Regions from separate parts of the Homo sapiens genome. Here all the other regions are linked to region 3. The links are contacts of gene promoters, found by promoter capture Hi-C in human tissues and cell types (Jung and others, 2019). All regions are on one chromosome and are shown on one strand. The core of a region is centred on a gene start or on the middle of the fragment in contact, and the rest is flanking DNA. Distances in the headings are between cores, read along the strand shown.

Region 1 (4,688 bases), core at 1-2,500, 150 kb after region 3:
CTGTCACCCCCGGACCTCGCTCCCAGCCCGAAGAGGTCACCCAGCGCCCGGCGTCAGGCTCGCGGGCTGCAAGGGTCCAAAGTTCACTGCAGGGAGAGGAGGGGGCGGTCAGAAGGGGGGGGCGAAGGTAATGAATGAAGAACCAGCCCCAGCCGCCGTGGCAACTCACCTCGGCGCTGACCAGACGCAGGTAGCAGCAGAGAGACAGGAAGAGCGCCCAGCAGCGATTCATGCCGACTCCGGGCCCGGCCCCGCGGGGCCCCGGACGCGTAGATCGAGCGCGCCGCCCCCGCGGCCAGGGTGGGGGGCTGGGGAGGGGGGTGGGCTCGGCTCGGGTCCGCGGCGATCAGGCGCTCAGGCCTCTGCAGCCGCGGCTCACCCGCATGGCCCCCGGGCGCCGCCGCCCCCGGCCCCGGCTCCGTCGCTGGGGGGCAGGGGAGGACCTGGGCGCAGGACCTGGGTCCGAGGCCGCTACCTGGGCGGATCCCGAGCCCGAGTGAGCATCCACGGCCGGGGGGCTGCGTCGCGAACCAGCCGAGGCGTCTAGCCGTGTGGGGGCGCCCAGGGGACTCCAACCTCCAAGAGGAAAAGGAACACGGCAGTCGATGGTTCGTCTTCACTCGCCGGCTACAGGCGTTTTCCTCTGCCCGCCGGCTTAGCTTTTTTGCAACATTTTCTGGAAAGGCCCCCAAAATCGGAAAGCGCGGAGCTGGGCACCTCAAGGCCCAAGTCTCCCCCAAAAAACTTTTTCCAAAGTTGGCTTTGCAACGGCAGCTCGAGCACCCGGGCAGGGAGAGGTGCAAACTCCCGCCCGGGCCGGGTAGGGGGGCGGGAGCGTGTGCGCCCTGGCGCGGGGCCCGGGCGGCGGGCACGGCTGCTCCGCGCGCGCGGCGTGCCCGCTGCGCGCTCGGCTGGGCCCGGCCGACAGGTGGACGCGGCGCGAGTCCGTCGGTCCGTCTGCCCGCCCGCTCGCCGCTCTGGGCGTCCTCTGCGGGCTGCGGGCTGCGAGCTGCGAGCTGCGAGCTGCGGCTGCTCCGGTTTTCTCTTTGCAGCGAGGCTGGAGGGTGGGCTTTTTTTTTTTTTTTTCCTTTTTGCGCGCGTATGTATGTGTGTGCGCGCAAAGTATCTCTATCTAGGGAATGAAAAATGGGCGCTGGCGGCCGGAGGGGAGCCCTAGGGAGGCAGCGGGGGAGGCTGCGGGTGCGCAGGGAGGCAGGCAGGCCGCTCCCGGCTGCAGGAGGAGAAGTTGCCACCCTTTCAGCTGTTCCGGCCTTTATAAAGGAGAAGGGAGAGTGCGAGAGGTGGGTGGAGACAGCCTTTCCTCTTCTGGCCCGGAGTCAGCGCCAGGAGGGGGGGGACGCGGGAGCTGGGGGAGGGCTTGGGGCCAGGGCGGGGCGCTTAGGGGGTCTCTGAGAGCCGAGCAACCCTTCAGTCCATGAATCTGGCCCTGGGGAAAAAAGAACTAGGGGTGACCCACCGTCCCGCCCCTCAGCACAGTGACCATGGACAGGTTAGGAGCCCACGTGGTCTAGGGGGATGTCTCCAGAGCCAAGGCCAGGAGTCCACGCTCCCCTCCAGGACCAGACATTTCCACCCTGGCACAGGCATGGCAGGGAGGGACTCAGGCTCTGCAGTCTGAGAGCCTGAATTCAGATCCTGCCCTGGCACTCGGGAGCTTGGGTCACCTTGGGCAAGTCACTTCCCTCTGTCCCCTCCATCTAGCCTCAACCTGGAGATGGGGCTATTGTAAGGACTCAGTGTTAGCAAGGGAAGACACCGCAAGGTGAACCCACAGAACCCGGCAGCCAGCGCCCTTCAGCTGCAAGCTGGGTCCGAGTCTCCTCCTCCTAGCTGGTTGCCTGGCACAACAGGCCCTGCCAGCGTTGGCTGAATTTGAATTTGTTGAACTGCAAAGTCACACAAACCCCCACAGCCCTGCAGCATCTTCGCAGGGCTACCAACATGATCTTCCCGTCAGTCACCCTGCTGTTTACTATCTCCCTCAGCCCCCGGGTTCGAGGCCCAGAGCCCACCCACCCACAACCAGCCTTCACACAGTTAACGCCTTCTGCCCCCAGTCAGGGAGCTGCTGTGTCCCTGCCTTCAGCAGTCACACTGTCTCAGTCACAGTCACACGTACTCACACTGGGCCCAGCACCCCCCTCGGGACACGCAGGCTCCTGCATCACCCAGCCTCCCGGCTTTGAGGCACCCTCATCTCCTCCGCTTGCACTGTCTCTGTTATCCGCCCTTCCCTTTGGGATGTCAGCCTGCTTCTCACAGAGGAGCACACTGAGAGAGTCACACCTGCTCTCTCTTCATAGACTGTCTTCTTGGACCTGGACAGGGTGGAACAGAGGAGGAAGGACATCTCAGGTGGTCTTTACAGACCACTGCAGGCACCCACCCACTGCTGCCTACCACCCAGCAGCGTGGCACAGTGGCAGAGACACAGCCTGAAGACACATCACCTTGGTCCAAATCCTGGAGTGGCCACTTGCTGGACAAGTGTCTGCAGGAAGGTTTTTTAACCTCTCAGTACCTCGGTTTCCTCCTTTATAAACTGGAGATGAATTTATAAACTGGAGCTGGGTGTGGTAACAAGCTCCTGTAGTCCCAGCTACTCAGGAGACTGTGGATCGTTTTGAGCCCAGGAGTTTGAGGCTGCAGTGAGTTGTGACTGTGCCACTGCACTCCAGCCTGGGCAACAGAGCAAGACCCTATCTCTAAAGAAATAAAAATAAATCTATAATGGGAAGGAGTGAGAGAGAACAGAGAGGCATGGCAAAATTTTAGTGGTGATGGAAATGTTTGTCATTTTTGATTGTGGTGATGGGCTTATGGGTGTATACGTACATCACAACAAAATGTGTGCAGTTTGTTGTACCTCAGTGCAGTTGTAGAGAATTTTTACCCTGCTCCTGGAGTGGTCTGGAGGCTCCCATGAGGTCCTCCATGTGGAGGCGCTCAGCAAAACACCTTAGCAGGAAGCAAGCGCCTGGAACCTTCCATGCAGCCTTCAAGTTCACTGGTGGCCCCGCACTGCTCCAGGCACTGGGGAGACAGGTGTGAACCAGCCTAATGCAGGCCCCTGCCTTTGAAGAGCCCCATTGAGAAGGACAACCAGATGTATAAACAGATAAATTAGGAGACAGGGTGACAAGGGAGATGGGGCAGCGGGACGAGGAGATAACCCCCAAACACTAGATTTGAAGTCTAACGACTCAGAGATAAAAACCCTCTTCCACCGGACAGCTGGGTCATTTGACCTTGACCTTCTGTGTCTTCTATAAATAGAATGGTAACAACTACCATGATTAGTGAGCTGACTATGTGGTAGCTAGTGTTTTTCTTACTCTACCTGTAGCCTCTCCATGCTCCTGTGAGATGTGTTATTCCTATCTTACAGATGGGGAAATGGAAGCACAGAGAGGCCAATACACTTGTTCAAGGTCACACAGCCCGTAAGTGGTAAGGCCAGGACTTGAATCTGAGCAGTCCAGCTACAGAGCCCACATGCTGAGACCACCGTGCTGTGCAATTTTCTGGCAGGTGATGCTGATGACAATGATGACACTTTTGACACAGCGCTTTGGTGAGCGCCACATGCATTAATATGTGGGAACCTGCTCTGCCAGCTAAAAAGTGATGGACCCATATGAACTCTGACTTAGGTACAAGTTGAGGGAGAGGGAAGGCTACTCAGAGCAGCATCGTAGAACGCCTACTGTTTGCAGACCCTGTGTGAAGCGCTGAGAAATGGAATGAGGAAGGAGTCCCAGCCTCGGCACTCAGGGACTTCCCATGCTCTCAGTGAGATAGACCCAAATCATTGCAGTGCAGGTGCCAGTACATGGGTTAGAAGTGGCAGAAGAGGGCCCAGCAGACACCTGGGCCTGAATGCTACGTGACACCTGCGTGACACCTGGGCCTGAATGTTGTGCTAAGGGCTCCTTTCTTGTACCTTCTCTGTGCAGAGGAACAGTCTGTAAAGAACACCTCCCCAGGCACGGTGGCTCACCCCTGTATTCCCAGCAATTTGGGAGGCTGAGGCCAGAGGATCATGTGCAGCCAGGAGTTCGAGACCAGCCTCAGCAACATAGCGAGATCCCATCTCTTAAAAAAAATTACCAAAAAAAAAAAAAAAAAAAAAAAAAAATATATATATATATATATATATATATATATATATATATATATATATATATCTGAGTGTGGCCCCAGCTACTCAGGAGGCTGAGTCAGGAGGGAGAATCCCCTGAGCCCAGGAGTTCAAGACTGCAGTGAGCCATCTCAGAGACGGGGTCTCGGTCTGTCGCCGAGGCTGGAGTGCCGTGGTGCGATCTCTTCTCACTGCAACCTCTGCCTCCCAGGTTCAAGCGATTCTCCTGCCTCAGCCTCCCGAGTAGCTGAGACCACAGGCGCCTGCCACCATGCCCAGCTAATTTTTGTATTTTTAGTAGAGACGGTTTCACCATGTTGACCAGGGTGCTCTCGATCTCCTGACCTCAAGTGATCTGCCCCACTCAGCCTCCCGAAGTGCTGGGATTACAGGCATGAACCACCACACCCAGCCTAAAAATTTTTTTTTAATAACACCTGATCGTCTGCCTCCTGCCAGGCTGGGTGTAGCAGGCACCTCCTCCAGAAGGCCCACCAGGCTTGGCACTTGTTCCAGGCTCCACAGC
Region 2 (4,763 bases), core at 2,032-4,531, 180 kb before region 3:
GGTGTCAATTCTCTCAAACCTGCTTTATCAACTAAATTTCTATAATATTTAAAATGCTTTGTTGTTATTTCAACATGTTCACAGCATCTTCACCAGGAGTACATTCCATTTCAAGAAACCACTTTCTTTGCTCATCTATAAGAAGCAGCTCATCATTCACTCAAGTTTGATCATGAGATTGCAGCAATGCAGTCACATTTATAGGCTTCACTTCTACTTCTAGTTCTCTAGCTATTTCCACCACATCTGCAGTTCTTTCTTTTACTGAAGTCTTCAACTCCTCAAAGTCATCCACAAAGGTTGGACTCAACTCCTTTCAAACTCCTGGTAGATTGATATGTTCATAATGGCACCTAGAATGATAAATGCTTTTCAGTAGGTTTCAATTTACTTTGCCCAGATCCAGACTTGAAAGCTGAAAGGACTCCTTGGTCCATGGGCTGCAGAATGGACATTGTGTTAGCAGGCAGGAAAGCAACATTCATCTCCTTGTGCATCTCCAGCAGAGCTCTTGGGTGACCAGGTGCATTGTCAATGAGCAGTAATATTTTGAAAAGAATATTTGAAAAGAATATTTTTTTCCGAGCAGTATATATCAACAGTGGGCTTAAAATATCCAGCAAACCACGCTGTAAACAGATGTGCAGTCATCTAAGCTAGAGCACTGGCAGAGTAGATTTAGCATCATTCTTAAGGACCCTAGGATTTTCAGAATGGTAAATGAGCATTGACTTCAACTTAAAGTCACCAGCTGCACTAGCCCCTAGCAAGATAGTCAGCCTGTCCTTTGAAGCTTCAAAGCCAGGCATTGCCTTCCCCTCTCTAGCTATGAAAGTTCTAGATGGCATCTTCTTTCAATAGAAGGTTATTTCATCTACATGGAAAACCTGTTGTTCACTATGGCCACCTTAATCAATGATCTTAGCCAGATCTTCTGGACAACTTGCAGCTGCTCCATCAGCACTTGCTGCTTCACCTTGCACTTTTATGTTATGGAGACAGTTTCTTTCCTTAAATCTCACGAACCAACCTCTGCTAGCTTCAGACTTTTCTTCCGCAACTTCCTCACCTCTCTCAGCCTTCATAGAATTGAAGAGAGCTAGGGCCTTGCTCTGGATTAGGCTTTCGCTTAGGAGAATGTCATGGCTGGTTTGATCTTCTATCCAGACCCCTCAAACTTTCTCCATATCAGCAGTAAGCCTGTTTCACTTTCTTATCATTCATGTACTCATTGGAGTGGCACTTTTAATTTCCTTCAAAGGCTTTTCCTTTGCATTCACAACTTGGCTAACTGCATAGTGGAAGAGGCCTAGCTTTCAGCCTATCTTGTTTCTTGACATTCCTTCCTCATTAAGCCTAATCATTTCTAGCTTTTGATTGAAAGCAAGAGATATGTGACAGTTCCTTTCACTTGAACACTGAGAGGCCATTGTAGGGTTATTAATTGGCCTAAATTCAATATTGTTACATCTCAGAGAATAGGGAGGCCAGGGCAGAGGGAGAGAGATGGGGAACAGCTGTTGGTGGAGCAGTCAGAACACACACAACATTTATCAACTAAGTTTGCTGTCTTATGTGGGTGTGGTTTGTGATGCCTGAAAACAATTACAGTGGTAACATCAAAGACACTGATCACAGATCCCTGTAACAGATATAATAATAATGAAAAAGTCTGAAATATTGTGGGAATTTACCGATGTGACACAGAGACCTGAAAGTGAGTACCTACTGTTGGGAAAATCATGCCAATACACTTGCTCGATGCAGGGTTGCCAAAAACCTTCCATGTGTAAAAAAAAACACAGCATCTGTGACTCAGTAAAGTGAATCCCAATTAAATGAGGTGCATCTGCACTCAGGATAAGTTATGCTTTCATCCCTCCTCTAAGGAGAGCAAAAGGGCTCAAATTTGAGGTCCAAGTATGTGTCAGGCATTTGATATTAGGGTCTTTCACTTAATTCTCATAGGAGATTTATCACAAATTTCCCAATCAAGATTCAGCCTCATAGAAGTGAGCCTCCTGAGTGAGACTCTGTGGCTCCTAAGTGGGGAATCTAGGGCTCGAACCCAGGTCTTGCTGATCCCATGTTTTTCTCACCATCACTGGATACTTCCTTCTTATGCAAGGAGAGAAATGCAAATTCTACAAAAGAAAAATGGGCTTGTGGTCTAGACAAGCATCTTGGTTAATGTCTGAGGGTCATGTTAAAAGCTTAGAAAGTTAGTTTTGTCTGCTGGGCATGGTGGCTCATGCCTGTAATCCCACTACCTTGGGAGGCCGAGGCGGGCGGATCACCTGAGGTCAAGAGTTCGAGACCAGTCTGGCCAACATGGTGAAACCCTGGCTCTACTAAAAATACAAAATTAGGTGGGCATGGTGTCATGTGCTTGTAATCCCAGCTACTCAGGAGGCTGAGGCAAGAGAATCGCTTGAACCCAGGAGGCAGAGGTTGCAGTGAGCTGAGATTGCACCATTGCACTCCAGCCTGGGCAAAAAGAGCGAAATTCAAAAAAAAAAAATTGGTTTTGTGATGGCAGCTGTTGCTAATCAGGGTATGGAGTCAGGAGCTTAGGTCTAGGGTTGAGCTCAGATCTCGACATGGACCAGGCTTTTCCCCTGTCTCAGTGCCTCATTTATGGTTCAGTTTCAGGCAGCAAAACTAATGAATGATTTCCAACCACAGAAGCCGTCACTGGGAGAGCCAATAAAGATACGACAGATCTGGCAGGAGAACAAGATCCAGCCCAGGTGATGGGGTGTGAGGCTTGGTCTTAGCTACAGGTAGGTCGTTTCCCTTAGCTCCTGGATGACTCAGCTTGGCAGCCACCCAGACTTCTATCAGGACCCAGAGGTGCTGCCAGCTCTGGAGCCATGTCAGGCCAGCTTTCTCCCCATGTCACCAGGGAATGGAGATTTTTCTGGTCTGCTGGGGCTTTTCCTAATTCTGCACGGTCGGCTTGAGACTGTCCACCTGTTGCTCCATCTAGGCTGCGTTGCCCTTATGAGCCGTCTTCACAAGGTACGTTTGGAGGATGTCAGGATGTCTTTCAAAGGATTTGTAGACATGCTTTAAAGTACTTACGGAGTCAATGTCCCCTTTGCTTCAAGCTTCTCTCCTACTGTAGGAAATAATGTCTACGGTGGCCCATTTCCAAGGCAAAGTGCCTCAAATAGGCTTGGGCCCACAACCTGCGGATGGACAGGATATACTAGACCCCTGCTGGTCAGGGCCCCCTTAGTTACCCCCACCCAAAGCAAAGCGTTTAGTCTAGAATGAAAGTTTACTAGCCTGAAAAATAGCTCACTTTATCTATTCTTATCAGCTTGCCTGGCCACCTGGGTCATAAGTCAAATACTTGAAGAGCACCTTAGCTGACTATGATTGCAGTGCATTATGGGCCACAACAAACTGCAGCGAGACAACCCTAAAGTAAACACCTAAAAGCCCCAACCCAACGACCAATAGGTGATGTCTGGGAAGATGGTGACCCCATGGTACTCAGCCTATGAGGAACCGGGGGAGGGACTTGCCTACTAGGGGATACATTGCTTGTTGTAACTGTACTGGGTGTGCCTGCCTACCAGACACCAGATCTTGCAAGACTGTCATTAAAAGTCTCACTTCTGGCTGGGCGCAGTGGCTCATGCCTGTAATCCCAGACTTTGGGAGGCCAAGGCAGGCAGATCCCCTGAAGTCGGGAGTTCAAGACCAGCCTGACTAACATGGAGAAACCCCCATCTCTACTAAAAAAAAACAAAAACAAAGAAAAAACCTACAAAATTAGCTGGGCATGGTGGTGCATGCCTGTAATCCCAGCTACTCGGGAGGCTAAGGCAGGAGAATCACTTGAACCCAGGAGGCGGAGGTTGCGGTGAGCCGAGATGGAACCATTGCACTCCAGCCTGAGTGACAAGAGTGAAACTCTGTCACAAAACAAAACAAAAACAAAACAACAACAACAACACAAGTCTCACCTCTGCAATTCTCTATGTCTCTAAGTTCATCCTTTGGGTTTGGACAGGTGAGCATGTTTCTCATATTACCCACACTGGTGGGCCCCGTAGGCTTCCTGGTTGGTCCAGGAGTGGATGCCTGATGCAGGCTGCACAAATCAGATTCTCTCTTCTGGAGATTTAGAATCGAGAACCAGTGGTTATCATAGGTTAGCCTTGGCTGTCAGACCTGGAAGGTGAGGAGACCCAGAGCTGAGGGTGCCCTTTTGGGACAGGTGTCAAATCCTTGTACAAACAGAGAAACCAGACTGACAAGGGGGTAGGATGAAGGAGCTGAAGGAGAAGCAGAGCCACAGAGGACCGGGCAGAGAGAGGGGCTGCCTTGGTGGGGACAGCCTGTAGACAGCGCCAACGACGTGGGGCTGGTGCTGTCCCCACTGTGGTCTCAAACACCAGACTAGTGCCCGGTCAGCACAGAGTTCAGGACAGTGGTGCAGCTGACACCCAGAAAGACACCGCAGTGGAAAGCCTGGCCTGACGCTCCCAGCTCTCTCCCTGCCATGCACTGACTCCATGTCCTGTGAGGAGGAGGTGGGAGGAGAGTTTTATTAGGGGAATTCATTTGTAATAATTGCCTAAGTATTTGCTACTTAGGAGAACATGGATCTGCAAAGGGTCCATGACCCTTTGAGTCAGAGTTTCACTCTTGTTGCCCAGGCTGGAGTGCAATGGCGTGATCTCGGCTCACTGCAACCTCCGCCTCCCAGGTTCAAGTGATTCTCATGCCTCAGCCTCCCAAGTAGCTGG
Region 3 (4,323 bases), core at 361-2,860:
TTTAGACAGAGTCCCGTTCTTGTCGACCAGGCTAGAGTGCAGTGGCACAATCTCGGCTCGCTGCAACCTCTGCCTCCCAGGTTCGAATGATTCCCCTGCTTCAGACTCCTGAGTAGCTGGGATTACAGATGCCCGCCACCACGCCTGGCTAATTTTTGTATTTTTAGTAGAGACGAGGTTTCACCGTGTTGCCCAGGCTGGTCTCGAACTCCTGACCTCAGGTCATCAGCCTGCCTGAGCCTCCCGAAGTGCTGGGATTACAGGCGTGAGCCACAGCACCTGGCCTGGCTCTTTGGTGTTTATGATCTGAAGGGTGTTGGTTGATATGCATGAAGACGAGGACATGGGTTCCAGAATGCAAATGTGAAGTCCAGGTCCTTCATCTCTGACCTGGGAGGCCCTTTAGGAGCAGTAAGTCCCCTCCCTCGTGTCTCCTCTCCTGCTCCTTTCCATGGAGCAATGAAGAACCTCAAAGTAGCTAGCTGTGGGGGAGAAGGGACACAGGAAGTCCTGGCCAGCACTCCAGCTCTGCTGTTGATTTGCTGTGTGACGTGGGGACAGTATCTTAGCCTCTCTGTGCTTGGGACCTCCTCTGACTGTCAGGATCACTGCCCTCCCCTCCCAGTGCTATCTGGGGACTGGGCTAGATAATGGGCACTGGATCCGCTGGAGATGCAGTCCTGAGCCTGACCCCAGTGCTCATTTCACATCAGGCTCAGGGTCCTGCCAGGAGGCTGAATGCCAAAGGTCAGTGGGGTGGTGGGGAGGGGGCTGCAGCCTGCCCTGTCCACCAGGGGAGTGGCATCTGGTCTATGGTGTCAGCCCTGGTCTGGATCCCTGCTCCTTTCTGTGGCTTCTATTCCTTTCATTTATTTTAGTTTAGTTTAGTTTTTGAGACGGAGTTTTGTTCTTATTGCCCAGGCTGGAGTGCGGTTGGCCAGGTTGATTTTGAACTCCTGACTTCAGGCAATCCACCTGCCTCAGCCTCCCAAAGTGCTGGGATAACAGGCACCGTGACCAGCCATCAATTCCTTTCTTTTTTCTTTCTTTTTTATTTTTATTTATTTATTTATTTTTTGAGACAGGGTCTCGTTCTGTTGCCAGGGTGGAGTGCAGTGGTGCGACGTCGGCTCACTGCAACCTCTGCCTCCAAGGTTCAAGCAATTTCCCTGCCTCAGCCTCCCAAGCAGCTGGAACTACAGGCGCAGGCCACCAAACCTGGCTAATTTTTTGTATTTTAGCAGAGACGGGGTTTCACCATGTTGGCCAGGATGGTCTTCATCTCCTTACCTTGTAATTTGCCCACCTCAGCCTCCCAAAGTGTTCGGATTACAGGTGTGAGCCACCGCATCTGGCCTTTGTTCTTTTGTAAACTATACCTGGGGAGGGAGTTGAGTCTGGCTGTACCTGGAGAGGGAATTGGGGGTGGGAGGATGGGAGGTGAGCCACCTCCATCAGACTTCCCCTGCCAAGCCCGAGGAAATAGAGAAAGAAAGGAGCCTGAGGGATCTGAAGCACCCCAGGGCCCTCCCACTCCAGTCCCACAAAAGGAAGAGGGTGGAGCCACCCTCATCAAGCAGTGACTTTTTGTGACTTTTGGGAGAGCTGACCTTTTGTGACTTTTGGGAGAGCTGCCAAAAGTGAAACTTAGTGCCTCAGACAAGCAGGGGCAAGTCTGCTAAGGAAGCTGTGGCCAGAAGCACAGATCAGGTACTGCCGCCCACTCTGTCCACTGGGCCCTCTGCTGCCACTTCCTGCCTGGCAGCCCTTCTGTGCCTCAGCCCTGGCCTCCCGCTGCCCCAGCCCCAGCCCTGGGCTCCTTCTCCTCTGGCTCCCCTGCCATCCCCACTCCCACCCAGGCTCTTTGCCCTGCTGTGTGGTCACCCCACTGCTGCTTCTGAACGGGCCGCCTCCCCGGCCTGCACCAGCCCAAGACCCCTGCTGAGACTCTCCCCTAAGAGTCATGGCTGGGCTAGTGCTCCCCACCTTGGGAGGGTGCTCTCTCTGTGTGCTTCCTGCCATTCCTGGGCTCTGGAACTGGGAGAACTGAACTAAAGGATGATGGGAGCAATCTGGAATTTTGTTCACAGTGCTTTGATGAACTTTGTGTAAGATTACTTTGTTTCAATACAAAGTCTTAGGAGAGGGTGTGGGGAGGCAATGATCTCTGAAGCACAAGGCAAATCATCTCTTCCAAGGATGTCTCCACTGTGGGCAGAGGAGGATGCAGATGACCCTGAACACACACTCCTCCTCCATGATCAGTATTCACATTCACCGTTTATAATGACACCAGTAACACGGAATATACGGAAAAACTCAATGATCAGGAGAAATGCTTTTATTTTAAAATTTAGGAAGAAGAGAGCCTGGTTCCCAAAGGCTCCCTCCTGCAGGGCCCGTGATGCAGAGGCTGGCAGGGCTGGCCAGGAAAGTGGCCCAGCTCCATGGCCTGGGCAGGTTACCCCACCTCTCTGCACCTCTGGCCCCTCCTCTGTAAGATGAGAATGGCCCCTGCAGGCCTAGGGCAGCCTCACGTGAGCTCAGATCCTCTCAGCACTTAGAAGAGTGGCCTGGGCCTGGGGATGGAAGTGCTACCCTGATTTTTTGTTTCGTTTTGTTTTTTTGAGAAGGGGTGTCTCAGTCTGTTGCCCAGGCTGGAGCGCAATCTCGGCTCACTACAAGCTCCACCTCCTGGGTTCACGCCATTTTCCTGCCTGGCCAGGCAAAATGGCTCATGCCTGTAATCCCAACACTTTGGGAAGCTGAGAGGGGAGGATCATCACTAAAGGCCAGGAGTTCCAAACCAGCCTGGGCAACACAGGGAGACCCCCTTATCTACTAAAACTAAAAAAATAAAATAAAATAACATGAATAGGTAAAATGCCAGGAATTAATTGAACTGAAATATTAAGAGCTCTTATTTTGAAGGGGAGAATTTTATTCACTTTTCTTATTTTTAATGGGTTAGAGGATGGGTGGCAGAAATACTGGGAGGATGGGAGATCCATCCCTGGAAAGACCAGAGCTAGGGCCCTGAGCTGGGAGAGGTCACCCCGGCCCTGCTGCCCCTGCCAGCATCTCCTTCTCTTCTCCTCTCCCTGGTCTTCCTGCTTGGGAAAGCTGCAGAAATTCTCAGGACTTGGAGGCTTGAAATGCTCAGGGGTTTTCCAGAAAGCAGAATAGAAAGTAGATGGGCAACCATCAATCAGACAGGCCAAAGAAAAGGAGCTCAGGCCCTCGGGGAGACAGGAGGTGAGCGCATGGGTCACAATCCTGGCGGGGCGCGGTGGCTCACGCCTATAATCCCAGCACTTTGGGAGGCCGAGGTGGGTGGATCACCTGAGGTCAAAGGAGTTCAAGACCAGCCTGGCCAACATGGTAAAACTCCATCTCTACAAAAATACAAAAATTAGCCGGGCATGAAGGAGGGCGCTTGTAATTCCAGCTACTTGGGAGGCTGAGGCAGGAGAATTGCTTGAACCCGGGAGAATCACTTGAACCTGGTAGGTGGAGCTTGCAGTGAGCTGAGATTGGACCACTGCACTCCAGCCTGGGCAACAGAGCAAGACTCTCTCTCAAAAACAAAAAAAAAGCAAAATCCAAAATTGAATCCTCTGTAGAATGTAATCACAATTCAGGAGAGCAAAATCTATGTAATTTCTTCAGCCAAAAATGTGTCACAACACTCCCTTGGTGACAACAGCTTTTCTGTTCACTCAACTGTGTTCTGTGCAGACAAACTTGTCAAACACACACCTGAGCAAAGAGCACAGTGCTGGAGGAAGCCCCAGTTTCCACCCCATCACTCCCCAAGGGGAAGGGTTCTGGTATTGGACATGTAGGGGTCGAGAGGCCTGTGGACCTCAAGGAGGGGGTGTCCAACTGCAGCTGGAAAGAGGGATCTGGGACTCAGGCCAGAGGCGTGTGAGCAGCTCAGAGCAGCTCTGAGCCCAGGGGAGCCAGAAAGGCACACCCACAGTTCTCAGGCAGGGGATCCCCACCCAACCCAGGAAGAATAGTGACGAGGTCGGGGCATCCCCATGCAAAGAGCCTCAGCTGTGGGCAGCAGCCGGTGCCCTCCCAGGTGGGAGGATGGGAGATAGCAGACAAGGTGGGAGGGAGCACTCCCCTCCTCCTGTCCTCCTGCCAGCCCTTCCTTCCCCTGCTCCACTGCAGTCCTCCTGGCCAACAACTAAAGGGGAGACCCTCCCTCACCAAGGGGAAGGGCCCAAATGAACAGAAAGGGTTGGGTTTGGCTGGGCGCAGGGGCTCACACCTGTAATCCCAACACTTTGGGAGACCAAGGTGGGTGGATCACCT

The links. Contacts are between HindIII fragments. The study calls those that stand out against the background at their distance.
Region 1: a contact is called between the fragment with the promoter of PDGFB here and the fragment with the promoter of APOBEC3H in region 3, in 2 of the 25 tissues and cell types used here (mesendoderm cells and thymus).
Region 2: a fragment that was not itself captured here is called in contact with the fragment with the promoter of APOBEC3H in region 3 in 2 of the 25 tissues and cell types used here (spleen and stomach).

What each region holds. Positions count from the first base shown.
Region 1 is chr22:39,243,732-39,248,419 of GRCh38, forward strand. PDGFB (platelet derived growth factor subunit B) reads right to left here and starts at 1,251. Exons shown (of 7, transcript NM_002608.4): 1 at 170-1,251. The coding sequence starts at 232. The HindIII fragment of the contact is 11,810 bases long and covers 1-4,688 here.
Region 2 is chr22:38,918,530-38,923,292 of GRCh38, forward strand. It overlaps LOC105373032 (a long non-coding RNA gene), which reads left to right. Exons shown (of 3, transcript XR_938256.2): 2 at 2,647-3,021. Among named protein-coding and RNA genes, the nearest start is that of APOBEC3A, 37 kb to the right of the region's middle. The HindIII fragment of the contact is 3,556 bases long and covers 1,504-4,763 here.
Region 3 is chr22:39,095,634-39,099,956 of GRCh38, forward strand. APOBEC3H (apolipoprotein B mRNA editing enzyme catalytic subunit 3H) reads left to right here and starts at 1,611. Exons shown (of 5, transcript NM_181773.5): 1 at 1,611-1,710. RefSeq lists enhancers at 733-1,932, 1,255-2,142, 1,473-1,812, 2,143-3,029. The HindIII fragment of the contact is 18,686 bases long and covers 1-4,323 here.